Linked DNA regions of Homo sapiens: all the other regions are linked to region 2. The links are contacts of gene promoters, found by promoter capture Hi-C in human tissues and cell types (Jung and others, 2019). All regions are on one chromosome and are shown on one strand. The core of a region is centred on a gene start or on the middle of the fragment in contact, and the rest is flanking DNA. Distances in the headings are between cores, read along the strand shown.

What was found. The method cuts DNA at HindIII sites, captures the fragments that hold promoters and counts their contacts. A contact is called where the count stands out against the background at its distance.
Region 1: a fragment that was not itself captured here is called in contact with the fragment with the promoter of PLEKHH2 in region 2 in 1 of the 25 tissues and cell types used here (liver).
Region 3: a fragment that was not itself captured here is called in contact with the fragment with the promoter of PLEKHH2 in region 2 in 1 of the 25 tissues and cell types used here (aorta).

The regions. Positions count from the first base shown.
Region 1 is chr2:43,680,426-43,684,850 of GRCh38, reverse strand. All of the region lies in intron 3 of PLEKHH2 (pleckstrin homology, MyTH4 and FERM domain containing H2), which reads right to left. It also overlaps the pseudogene LOC100421122. Among named protein-coding and RNA genes, the nearest start is that of C1GALT1C1L, 6.2 kb to the right of the region's middle. The HindIII fragment of the contact is 4,210 bases long and covers 1,071-4,425 here.
Region 2 is chr2:43,635,950-43,640,517 of GRCh38, reverse strand. PLEKHH2 (pleckstrin homology, MyTH4 and FERM domain containing H2) reads right to left here and starts at 3,258. Exons shown (of 30, transcript NM_172069.4): 1 at 3,139-3,258. RefSeq lists a silencer at 3,025-3,354. The HindIII fragment of the contact is 17,439 bases long and covers 1-4,568 here.
Region 3 is chr2:43,586,123-43,590,439 of GRCh38, reverse strand. THADA (THADA armadillo repeat containing) reads left to right here. Exons shown (of 38, transcript NM_022065.5): 5 at 3,438-3,586; 6 at 3,706-3,738; 7 at 3,991-4,039. Among named protein-coding and RNA genes, the nearest start is that of THADA, 7.8 kb to the left of the region's middle. The HindIII fragment of the contact is 4,219 bases long and covers 1-3,494 here.

The DNA.
Region 1 (4,425 bases), core at 1,926-4,425, 44 kb before region 2:
TGTAATTCTCTCTCTTTTTTTTTTTTTTTTTGGTAATGGGAGTAGCAGTATGTCTAAAATAACCAATCCTGGTGTATTTTTGCTTAAAGATATAGCACATAGAATTAAATAACTTTATACCCAACATCCTCAAAGAACAACTTCAAAGGAGAGAAGTCCTTCCTGTCAAACTTACCAAGACCAGTGGTTGGCCCTGATGGCAACAAACCTCTGTGGTTTGCTTCCCTTGAATCGGGAACAAGGATCCTTTTTTAAAGACTCCTCACTGGATCTCATAAGACCCAAGGAATTGGGGTGGGGCAGGGGTCGGTGGGGGGCGGGTGTAGATAGTTGAAAATCACAAATAAAAAATACTTAATTTAGTTTAATTTTCAAAAACAAACAAATTTGCCACATATTATGAATTAAGAATTTTAAATTAAGGCAAAACAAAACCATCCTCAATTTTTTTCTCTTTTTCCCATAATATGGGCAGTTAAAGGAGAGAAAGGAAGGGAAGGGAAAGATAGGGAAGAACAGATAGATTACATATAGAGACATATAGACACAGCCAGGGTACAGAGGTAAAGAAAGATGCTACTAGGAAGGCCAAAGTCAGAAAACACAAGACAATGAAGGAAAAAGAAGGGAAGGGAAAGGAAGGGGAAAAGAAGGGAAGGAGAAAAGAAGGAAAAGGAAGGGGAGTATAGTATCATATCCTATATGATACTATAGAAGAGGATACACAGCATTATACATTTGTCAAAATCCATAGAACATAAAACACCAAGAGTAAACACTAATGTAAACTATGGGATTTGGGTAACAATGATGTGTCAGTGTTGGTTCATCAGTTGTAATAAATGTACCACTCTGGTGTTGGATGCTGATGGTGAAGAAAGCTTGAATGTGTGTTGGAGGGGAGAGGATATATGAAAGCTCTGTACTTCATACACCATCAATTTTGCTGTAAATCTGAAACTGCTCTAAAAATTAAAGTCTGTTTTTAAAAAAGCAATAACCTCCCTGATGAAATCATTGATTTAAACAAGGTAATCAATGGCTGCTAATATCACCAAAAAAAAAAGAGAGAGAGAGAGATAACTAGACATCCACCTCCTGGTGGAGGTCAACAATATCACCCAAGAAGTAGTCTTGAAAAAAGAGAAAGAAAAGTCAAATTTTTAGATCTAACTATATTTTACAGGAAATATAGGGGAAGAGGAGCTTGTTAAATCACATCATAGGTATGCAATAGGCAAACTCCAGAATGTGGAAAGCTTTAGAGAACAAATTAACCCATACAAATAAGTTGAAAGAAAAAAGGAAAAAAGACCCTATAAATTAAAAGAGTTTAAGAATCAAATGAAATGTATCAATCTAGTTTAGATCCCAATTTGAACAAACTAACTATTAAAAACAAAAAAAAAGAGGGCCGGGCGAGGTGGCTCACACCTGTAACACCAGCACTCTGGGAGGCCAAGGTGGGCGGATCACCTGAAATCAGGAGTTTGAGACCAGCCCGACCAACATAGAGAAATCCCATCTCTACTAAAAATACAAAATGAGCTAGGCGTGGATGCCTGTAATCCCAGCTACTCGGGAGGCTGAGGCAGGAGAATGGCTTGAACGTGGGAGGCGGAGGTTGTGGTGAGCCAAGATCGTGCCATTGCACTCCAGCCTGGGCAACAAGAGCAAAACTCCATCTCAAAAAAAAAAAAAAAAAAAAGGGTATATAAATAAAAGAATTAAAAAGGGGTACTCAAACAAATATATGTACGTTCTTAACAGCACTAGTCACAATAGTCAAAAGATGAAAAGGTAGAATAGGTAGGGCACAGGAGACATCGAGGGCAGTGAAAGTCCATAAAAAGACAATGTCCATAAAAAGTCAAATGGATAAACAAATTGTGTGTGTGTGTGTGTGTGTGTATATATGGAACATTATTCAGCCATAATGAGGAATAAAGCATGACACATGCTACAACGTGGATAAATATCAAAAACATTCTGCTAAATGAAAGAAGCCAGACACTAAAGATCAAATAGTATATAAATCCATTTATATGAAATATCCAGAATAGGTAAATCCATAGCAACAGAAAGCAGATTGGTGGTTGCCAGGGGCTAGTGGGAGGGGGAAATGGGACTAAATGCTTAATGAATAAGGTTTCCTTTTGAGATGAGTTTCCTTTCGACATTTTGGAACTAGATAAAGGTGATGATTGTACACAACACTGAAATGTTCATTTAAAAATGTTAATTTTGGCTGGGCACGGTGGCTCATGCCTGTAATCCCAGCACTTTGGGAGGCCAAGGGGGGCAAATCACAAGGTCAGGAGTTCGAGACCAGCCTGGCCAACATGGTGAAACCCCATCTCTCTAAAAATACAAAAAATTAGCCAGGCGTGGTGGTGGGTGCCTATAGTCCCAGCTACTCGGGAGGCTGAGGCAGGAGAATCGCTTGAACTCAGGAGGTGGAGGTGGCAGTGAGCTGAGATGGCACCACTGCACTCCAGCCCAGGTGACAGAGTGAGACTGTCTCAAAAAAAAAAGTTAATTTTATGTTATGTGAATTCCACTTTGATTAAAGAACAAAACACAGAAGCAATTATTAGCTATTTGGAAAAATCTGAATACTGACTAGATCTTTGATATACTGAAGAATTACTGGTAATTTTTTGGTGTGATGATGGTATTGTGGTTATGATTTTTAAGGGTGTTTGGTTTCAGATTAGTATAGTATATAATAATGGATGAAATTATACCATGTCTGGGATTTGCTTTTCAATAGTCCAGTGTGAGGGGGGCAGGGGAAGTGGGTGGAGGTACAGATGAGGCATGACTTGACTAATTGTTGAAGTGGGTGATGCGGGTTCACTATACTATTTTCTCTACTCTTGTATGTGCTTAAAGTCTTGCCTAATAAAGTTGTAAGATTTCCTTTTCAAGCATAATTAAAAAAATCAAAGATTAGGCTACATTGGGCTTATTTAGAAATCTATTAGGCACTTACTCTACCCTATAAAATTAAAACTTTCATGTATCTGCTGAATCTAAAATAAAAATTGAGGGTGATGGGGCCTGGTGGGGAGAGGGTCCAGAGTAGGCTCTCAGACCCGAAACTGAATGGGGTGTCTGGGGCATCAGGGAGCTCCCTTGCCTGGCCCTCAGTGGCCTGATGGAGTAAGAGCGTTTGGTTGAGTGATTCAGATCTGGTCACTATGGTAGGAGAACAAAAATGCATATTGTGTCATATCGTGTACAGCTCCAAAAAGAGGCACTAGTCATGAGTGCCGAAGGTGCGGGCCCACAGAAGTGAGTCTTTCTGCATACGCAAAGCACATTTCTGGCCAGCTGCACAAAGATAACGTTGATGCCCAGGAAAGAGAAGATGATGGAAAAGGAGAGGAAGAGGAAGAAGATTATTTTGACAAGGAACTCATTCAATTAATAAAACAAAGGAAAGAACAAAGTCGACAAGAACCTTCCAGTAGCAGCCAAGAAGTAAATTCTGATGACAGGTGACCCCAATGGAGCTGAGAACACCAAATTCCTCACCAACACAGACAGAGTTACAGTCAGCCAGCATGGCATCACCCTGGACCTCCACAGGAGGATTGTAATTGGAAAAAAGATCGCTTTAATAATACATGGAGAAACAGCTTTCTGTATTCTTTGAGGAATAGTGGTGGACCAAAAGGATGTTCTGAGTGGCATTAGAGTGTTGCAGGAGGCTCCTTGACTTGGTTTCACAACCATAGTAATTCTGGAGTTGGTTGGCATTCAAATAGTGGAACAGTAGATTGGAATCATAATGGTACAGGAAGGAATTCCAGTTGGCATTCTGAGGGAACAGGTGACTTTTCCAGTTGGCATATGAACAACAGTAACGGAAACTAGAAATCCAGTGTATGTAGTAAAAATAATTGCAACTAAAGTGGCCCTGGACATAAATTTCAACCAGGCAGAAACAGAAATTCTACTTGTCAAATGGAAGATGTGACTATGCTATGGAACAAGAAATCAAATAAGTCAAGCAAATACAATCAAGAAAGATATAATTGGTAGTGTCAAGAAAATGAGAAACTTGGAATGACAAACTTTGTACGGCTGCCACATATAGAGGTCCTTCTGAAAGATTTACAAGTGATAAATTTCCTTCGGAAGGCTTACTTGACTTCAATTTTGAGCAGCCAGAAAGCCAAACCACTAAACAAACAGACACTGCAACTTCCAAAATTAGTGGAAAGAACAGCAGTGCAGCAACGGGGAAAGCCTTGTTGCCAGACTCCTTACCCTTCTAAAATAAAAATTAAAAAGGAAAAAGATTTGGTAGTACTCAAGTTGAAGGAAGGAAACATGACAAACTTAGAGGAAGCATAAGGAATTTCATATGCACTTCTTAGGAGAAATAATTTTGTATTTAAGCCTTTTTTTTCTTTT
Region 2 (4,568 bases), core at 2,009-4,508:
TTACAGTTCCTGAAAAGTTTAAACAGGCCAGCATGGTGGCTCACGCCTGTAATCCCAACAGTTTGAGAGGCTGAGGTTGGAGAATTCATCTCTGAGGTCAGGAGTTCAAGACCAGACTGTGCAACATAGCAAGACCTCATCTCTATCAAAAAATTTAAAAATCAGCTAAGCGTCGGGGAGCTTACCTGTGGTCCCAGCTACTCGGGAGCCCTGTGTGGGAGGATCACTTGAGCAGTGAGCTATGATCATACACTGCACTCCAGCCTGGGTGACAAGAGTGAGACACCGTCTCAAAAAAAAAAAAAAGTTTAAATATAAAGTTACCAAGTTATTGGAGTAACTTTATATTTGGTATATCAATATAAAGTATTGGTAACTTTATACTTGGCATTGGAGTTGCTGGGTCATATGCCAAGGGATGGGGTCATATGCCAAGGGATGAAATACACATCCACACCAAAACTTGTAAATAAATGTTCAGAGCAACATTATTCATGATAGCCAAAGAGTAGAAACAGCCTGTGTCCACCATCAGATGAATGAATAAAATGTAGTAGATCTGGCTGGGTGCAGTGGCTCACTCCTGTAATCCCAGCACTTTGTAGGGCAAAAGCAGGTGGATCATCTGAGGTCAGGAGTTCAAGACAAGCCTGGCCAACATGGCAAAACCCCGTCTCTACTAAAAATACAAAAATTAGCCAGGCATGGTGGTGCAGGCCTATAATTCCAGCTACTAGGGAGGCTGAGACAGGAGAATTGCTTTAACCCAGGAGGCAGAAGTTGCAGTGAGCTGAGATCCTGCCATTGCACTCCAGCCTGGGTGACAGAGTGAGACTCTGTCTCAAAAAAAAAAAAAAAAAAAAAAAAGTGGTACATCCATACAATGGAATATTATTCGGCCATAAAAAAGGAATACAGTACTAATACACGCTATAGTCATGGAAGAGCCTTGAAAACATTATGCTAAGTGAAAGATGCCAGACACAAAAGGCCACATATTGTATGAGTCCATTTACATGAAATGTCCATAAGAGGCAAATCCAAAGGACAGAAAGTAGGTTAGTGGTTGCCAAGGGCTGTGAGGAGAAGGTAGCAGATACTGACTACAATGGATAGGGGGTTTCTTTTTGGGGTGATGAAAATATTCTAGAATTAGATATTGGTGATGGCTATACAACCTTGTGAATATACCAAAACCCAGTGAACTGTATACTTTAAAAGGAAAAATCTTATAGTTTGTGACTTATATTAAGATCTCAATAAAAAAGATCACATATTTACAAATGACTAAAGAAAAAGTCGCAGTTTAAATGGATGTATACTAGGACTGCATTTACAAATTTAATCAACCATTATTTGTGGTTATCCCTGCCAAGAATTTCACAATTAGCTCAAAAAATTGAGAGGTAACTGTTAACCCCAAATATGAAAAGTATCATACATATATCTTACCTAGCGCACTTTGCTATGATGACATAATAAATTAATTCAAAGTCAAACATACCTATTTCTTTAGTTATGCTAATTATATATTTTATAGTGAAGTAGCAAAGCCTTAAGAATATTATTAAATTGGCATTTAACATCTACATTCCCTATTAATGGGTCATAATAAATCAGAACTGCAAATTGGTTGGATAATGGTCTGCACTGAGATCCAGACACCTGATTCCCTCATTTCATTCTGTAATTTCAGTTAGTTAACAAGTACAAAGCAACTGTTGTATTAGTGCACCATCTTGGGTAGTTAAAAATTCTAATTTTAAACAATATCCGCCATCCTTTTCATTACCACTAATGTTATAGAACTATATAACATTGGGAATATATATATAACTATATAACATAGCCGACTGCTAAATAAAGAAAATACCACATATAGATTCTGAATTTGAAAGGAATCTATCATGTCTAGATTCTGCATTTGAAAATAATCTATCTTCACTTCAGGGGACAGGAAAAAGTCTTGGAGTTCCAAATACCCCCAGTGATTTTTGGAAGTATTTACTGACATAAGATAAACTGTTTACAATTGTGGAGTGAATGCTCTTTTCTCTGAATCTCTGACTTCCTGTTTCTCTTCCAAATCCCAAAAAGGAAAGAAAAAGAAATGAAAGAATTATTCTACTTAGGCTTACCCTGATGAAGCGCAGCGTTAGTCTCTATGATATTCTTTAGTTTTTGCCTCTTAAGGGACAGCTTAACTGGGCTGGGTAATCGTGTGTGTGAGTGTGTGTGTGTGTGTGTGTGTGTGTGTGTGTGTGTGTGTTAAAAGATCTTTCTCGACGAGACTGAGGCATGCCTTGTTTAAGGAACCTTCTGACCACCACCTAGCCACCTAGCCCCACTTGGGCAACGCCTGCCCTTCGGTGACCCTGCCCAGAACAGCCGAGCTCCTCACTACATACTCCTCTGGGACACACCGCTGTGCGGGCCAGGCTTCCAAGACTGGCATTTTCACAAAGAAAGCAGTGACCCTCAGGTAGCCCACCACCAGAGCTTTTCCAATGTAAGTGGTTCGACTTCTATTTCCACAGCGTTACGCACAACAATATCGACGGGTAAAAAGTGTTGTCCTTTAAAAAGTGCCCCACTAACTTCGGGGACAGTGGTTTCCGGGTAGGTCACCTTAGGGTGCTTTGACGTGCCAGCAACTCGAGGTGTACAAAATGCTTCTTTAAAGTTTTGAGTTTAAAGTTTCGCCCCGGAGATCCTGGTGGATCTCCCGAAGCCTAAGGCGAGCGCGGCATCCCTGACCGCGCGGGTCCCTCGGCTCGGGGACCCTGGGCTGCCCCGCTGCGCCCCCGGGACCGCTCGCGCCGCGCCAGAAGCCCGGGCCCAGTGTTTCCAAACAGAACGTCACGGGAGCCCACGGGCGCGAGGGACCGCCGGCCACCGCCCCCTGCCCACCTCTCCCGGCGACATCCAGACTTGGGGGCCGACTCTGGGCTGTGGCGGGAGGTGCAGCGGCGGATCCCGAGTCAGCCCGCTCCGTCCCTCTCGTCCCCGCCTTCCCGCTCCTCCCGGCGCCCCAAACCTCGGCCCCGCGAGCCCCCCTGGACGGGGCGCCCTCAAGGGGGCGGGGATCCCAGGGTGGCAGGAACTCTGGAGTGGCCCCTCGTCCCCGGGCTTTCTCACCTGTCTATCTCAGCAGCGGGTCCCCGGCCGCAGCGCCCGATGTCCCGGCCGCGACTGGCCCCCGGGATCCCCGGACTCTCAGCCCGCGCCCGCCTCAAGCCGAGCTCGGAGAGGGCGGGGAAGGGCACCGCCTCCTCCAGGGACTGGCAGCCGGTGTAGCCAATGGGAGACCACAGCCGACCACCGGGCGTCACCGGGGGTGTGGCTATAACTTTGGCTCCTCCCAGTCCCTGCCCCAGGAGGGAGCTCTGTCCTGGAGTGGTACCCCTAACGTCCCAACTGCGAGACTCCAGAGCTTGCTGCAGCGGCCGGTCACCTTCATTCCACTCCGTCTGCCTGGACTGTTGCAGCACCCTCCCTTGGTCTCCCAGTCTGAAGTCTCTCCTCTTGCCAATCCACCCTTCATCTTCCTGCCAGGTTAATTTCCTTAAGAGCAGTTTTGATGAACAGTGTGCCAAAGACTTTCATTGGCTTCCGTTTGCTTAAATTATCAAGAACAGATTCCCTAGTCTAGTGTTCAAGGTCTCCATCCCGTCTTTTCAGGTTTATTTCTCACAGCTGCCCTTCACACACCTGAGACTACTGCTGTGCACCTCGCCACCCGAAGGAAGTGGCACTAGGAGCGTTTACATGCTATTTCCTGTCTCCACTTCAAAAAGCTCAGAATAATCTTCTCACCGGGCGCAGTGGCTCACGCCTGTAATCCCAGTACTTTGGGGGACCGAGGCAGGTGGATCACTTGAGGCCAGGAGTTCGAGACGAGCCTGGGCAACATGGTGAAACCCTGTCTCTACCAAAAAAAAAAAAAAAATATATATATATATATATATATATACACACAAAAAAAAAAAATTAGCTGGGCTTGGTGGCGCTCACTTGTAGTCCCAGCTACTCAGGAGGCTAAGGCTGGAGGATTGCTTAAACACAGGAGATGGAGGCTGCAGTGAGCCGCGATCATGCCACTGCACTGGATCCTGGGCGACTGGGCGAGATCCTGTCTCAAATCATCATCATTATCATCATCATCATCATCATCATCTTCTCCATGTAACTATGTCTGTCGCTCCACCTGGCAGAAATGTCGTCTCTGGGCCGGGCGCAGTGGCTCATGCCTGTAATTCCAGCACTTTGGGAGGCCGAGGAGGGCAGATCACGAGGTCAAGAGATCGAGACCATCCTGGCCAACATGGTGAAACCTGGTCTGTACTAAAAATACAAAAATTAGCTGGGCGTGGTGGTGCACGACTGTAGTCCCAGCTACTCGGGAGGCTGAGGCAGGAGAATCGCTTGAACCTGGGAAGCGGAGGTTGCAGTGAGCCAAGATAGCACCACTGCACTCTAGCCTGCCTACAGAGCAAGACTCCATCTGAGACAAAAAAAAAAAAAAAGGTCTTCTCTGGTTTCTGCTCCCTGAACATCTAGATTTTTGC
Region 3 (4,317 bases), core at 136-2,635, 48 kb after region 2:
TCCCAAAGTGATGGGATTACAGGTGTGAGCCACTGCGCCCAGCCTAGTTACAACTTTTTAAAAGTATAAAAAGCCTTCTTAGGTCACATGCTTAATAAACAGGCTGTGGGCTGTAGTTTGCTTACTCCTGCCTCAATCCATTTACATTTATTGGTTATGTTTAAATGTCATCTTGCTGTTTTTTCCTCTTTTTGTCCTATCTGTTCTTGGTTTAAATATATATTTACACAGATAACACAGGAATATAGGCTTGGTATAAAAATTTCAAATGATATAGAACTATACAAAATAAAAACTAAGGCTTCCATTTCATTGTTTAGGGCTTATCTTACTTTTCTTAGTAAAGATTGTCACTTACCGTTTTGGTATTTATCTTTCTAGACCTTCTCTTTGAGGTCAGCATATGTGTGTTACATTCTACTTTTTTTATATATATCTGTAAACGAGATTATACTCTACAGAATGCTCTGTAGCTTGTTTTTTCACTAAAGAATGTCTTAGAGATATTTCCATGTCATAAAATCCTAATTGTAGTAAAAGACATATAACATAAAAACTCAGTCTTAACCTTTTTTTTTTATGAATTCTTTTTTTTTAAATTTTAATTTTCATTTCGATAGGTTTTTGGGCAACAGGTGGTACTTGGTTACATGAATAAGTGGTGGTTTCTGAGATTTTGGTGCACACATCACCTGAGCAGTGTATACTGTACCCAACAATTTGTAGTCTTTTATTTCTCACCCCCTTCCCACCCTTTCCCCTGAGTCTCCAAAGGCCATTGTATCATTCTTATGCCTTTGCATCCTCATAGATAAGCTTCCACTTATGAGTGAGAACATATGATGTTTGAGTCTTAACCATTTTTAAGTGTACATAGTTCGCTATTGTTAAGTGTATTCATATTGCAGTGCAATGATCTCTAGAACCTTGTCATCTGCTAAGCTCTGAAACTGTATACATTAAGTAACAACTCTCCATTTCCTGCTCAGCCCTTGGCAGCCACTTTCCGTTCATAAATTTGATTACTTTAGATACCTCATATTAGTGTAATATTTGTATTTATATTTTTGTGACTGACTTATTTCACTTAACATAATGTCCTTAAGGTTCATCCCTGTTATAGCATATGACAGGATTTTCTTCTCTTATAAGGCTTAATATTCTGTTGTATGCATATACTGCATTTTTTTCATCCATGCATCTTTCAATGGACATTTGGGTTGCTTCCACTGCTTGCCTGTTGTGAATAATGCTGCTATGAACATGGGTGTGCAAATATCTATTTGAGATCCTGCTTTCAGTTCTTTGGATATATACCCAGAAGTGGGATTGCTGGACCATATGGTAATACTATTTGTAATTTTTTGAGCAACTGTCATACTGTTTTCCATATGCAACATTTTACATTCCCACCAGCAGTCCTTACTTTTTCAGCTATAAATATTCTGTAATATGAATATACCAAAATTTAAATGTACCATATATATGACATGTATGTATCTATATATGGTACATATTACATGATTTATATTACATGGTATAAAGTAATTTAATCACTTCCCCATTGCAGTGATATTCTTATGTATATAATTATATATGTGTATTTCTCTGAGATAAATTCCAAGAAGTGGAATTTCTGGACCAAAAATTAGGCCTATTGAAATTCTTGGTAGATATTGTTAAATTGTACTCCCCCAGACTACCCATTGAATTAGAATGCTTGTTTCTTCTTCATATATTTCCAACATTGGATACTATCAATCTTTAAATCTTTTAAAATCTAATGAAGGAAAATGCTATCATTATAATTTGTGTATCCCAGATTACTAGTGTAATTGAACATTTTTTAATGTGTGGAATTTGACTTTTTTTATTACATATTCTTTGTACATTTTCTTGTTAGAATGTTTTCTTGATTTATAAGACTTCTCTATAGATCATATGCCAAATACATTCCTTTGTTACTTGTCTTTAACTTTCTCATGGTGTCTTGTCTTTACAAAAATTAAAATATTATTTTGGTTATCAATTCAGCTAATTTTTGTGTATGTAGATTTCTGAGTTTTATACCTTGCTATATGTGCTTTCTGTAATACAAGATTATTTAAAACATTATTTGCAGGCCTTATACTATTTTTTTTTTTTTTGCTCAACTTTTATGTCCATCTGGAATTAAGCTTTGAATGTAGTGTGAGGTAGGGATTCAATTTAGTTTTCTTTTTTATATGGGGAACCACTTACCCAAACTGTTGAATCGTCCATCTTTGCCCACATATTTGGAATGCCACCTTATTGTGTTATATGTTCACATATATACATGGGTTTGATTTCTGAGTTAGGTCCAATTATTCATACACCAACACCACACTTTTATTTACTATAGTTTGATAAAGTGTTTTAATTATATGTCAGTGTTAAGTCATCCCTCTAGTGACTCTTCTTATTCTGAATATTCCCATTTTTGAATTATTTTCTTCCAGAAAAACTTTGAACTGTCCAGTTATATTTAAAACAAAGCCAATCAGTTTTGATGTATATAAATTGAGGCAAAATTGATATGTTTAATTTACTCATTTGATAAATTTTTATTGACTGCCTACTGTGTTTCAGCACTCTTCTAGGAACTGGGGGTAGAATGAATGAAACAGTCCAGAATGGAGGTTACATTCTAAGGGGAAGATAGAAAATAGACAAAATAAATAAGTAACATTTATAGGATATTAGATGGCATGAGTGCTATCTAAAAGCGGGAAGGAAGGAAAGGGGACATAAAGGATGGGGTGAGGGTTACAATTTAAAATATTATGGTCACTTCATATAGCTTTGCTCAGACATGATAAGGTAATTGAGATTGACCTGAAAGGGATGAGGCAGTGATTGCTGGGTATATTTGAAGGAAGAGTATTTTGGATGGAGGAAACAGCAGAAGCAAAGACTGGTATGTCAGAACAGAGCAAGGCCATGTAGCTAGAGCTAAGTGAACAAAGATCAAGATGAGGTCAGGATTGTGATAGATGCCATTTTAAAAATCAAGAAAAGAAAAAAAATAAATAAAGATGAGGTCAGGAGCTAATGGTAGTGCCAGATTGTATCGGGAGGACCTTGTAGGTCACTGTAAACACTTCAACTAGTACTTTAACCGAGAAGGATATTGTTGGAGGTTTTAGTAAGAGAAGTGACATGGTGTTTTAACGGTGTCACTCTGCCTGTTCTGTTGAGAATAATCTGGGAGATGGGAGAGAAGCAAGGTGGAAGCAGGGAGACCAGATGTGCTGACAAGCCAGGAAATTCGAGTGATGGTAGTGTGTAGTTGTAGTTTTCTGGCTGTATTTTGAAGATTTAGTTCAGTATTCCCACATTTGTATGATTCTCTTCCCTCTCCACATATTCTGGGGCTATTAGATTGTCAGATTTTTAATATTTGTTTCTTTTTCTAGCTCACTAAATAGCCTGCCTGATTTTTTTCTACCTGAGGCTATGCACCGTTTTACTTCTCGTCTTCAGGAAGAATTGAATACTACTGACTTATACTCTTACAGGAAAGTTACTGACAATATTTCTTCCTGTATGGAGAACTTTAACTTGGGTAAGGCTGCACTTTTCTAGTCCTTTTTCTGGCTAACCCCTCTCATCACATCATAGTTTTTAAATGACATTGATTTTGGTCGTGAAACTCCTTACCAGTGTTCATTTTTTCCTCTACAGGTAGAGCAAGTGTTAATAATCTGCTTAAAAATGGTAAGTCCTATTATTTTATTTTGTTCCATGAGTTGATGGCTTGTATGAGTCATTTTGGAACTGGCTCTTTTAAGTTTCTTGGTAATAGGTAGAGCATTGTAGATAACTTAGGTACATCATGACCCTTCCTTTTAAATTTTTGTTTCCATATCATGATATCATTTTGGATAACAGTGATATAAAATATTTTATTTTATTGAAATTGAGCTTCACAGTTTTAAATTCTTATTTGTCATATTCTTTTTGTTTCAGTGCTTCATTTTCTGCAGAAGAGTTTAATTGAAATCCTGGAAGAAAATAGGCAAGTGCTATATGTTGGCATTTGTGTGTGCACACTTGCAGTTGTACATTATCTTTGTACAAAGAAAAATTTAAAAGTCTCAGAATGTGATCTTTTCATCCCTTTTCATTAATATTATCACTTTTATATTTTTTTTGAGATGGGGTCTTGCTGTGTCACCCAGGCTGTAGTGCAGTGGTGTGATCATAGCTCGCTGCAGCCTCAACCTCCTGGGCTCAAGTGTTTGTATCACCTCAGCTTCCCACGTAGCTGGGACTACAGGCATGCACCACCACACC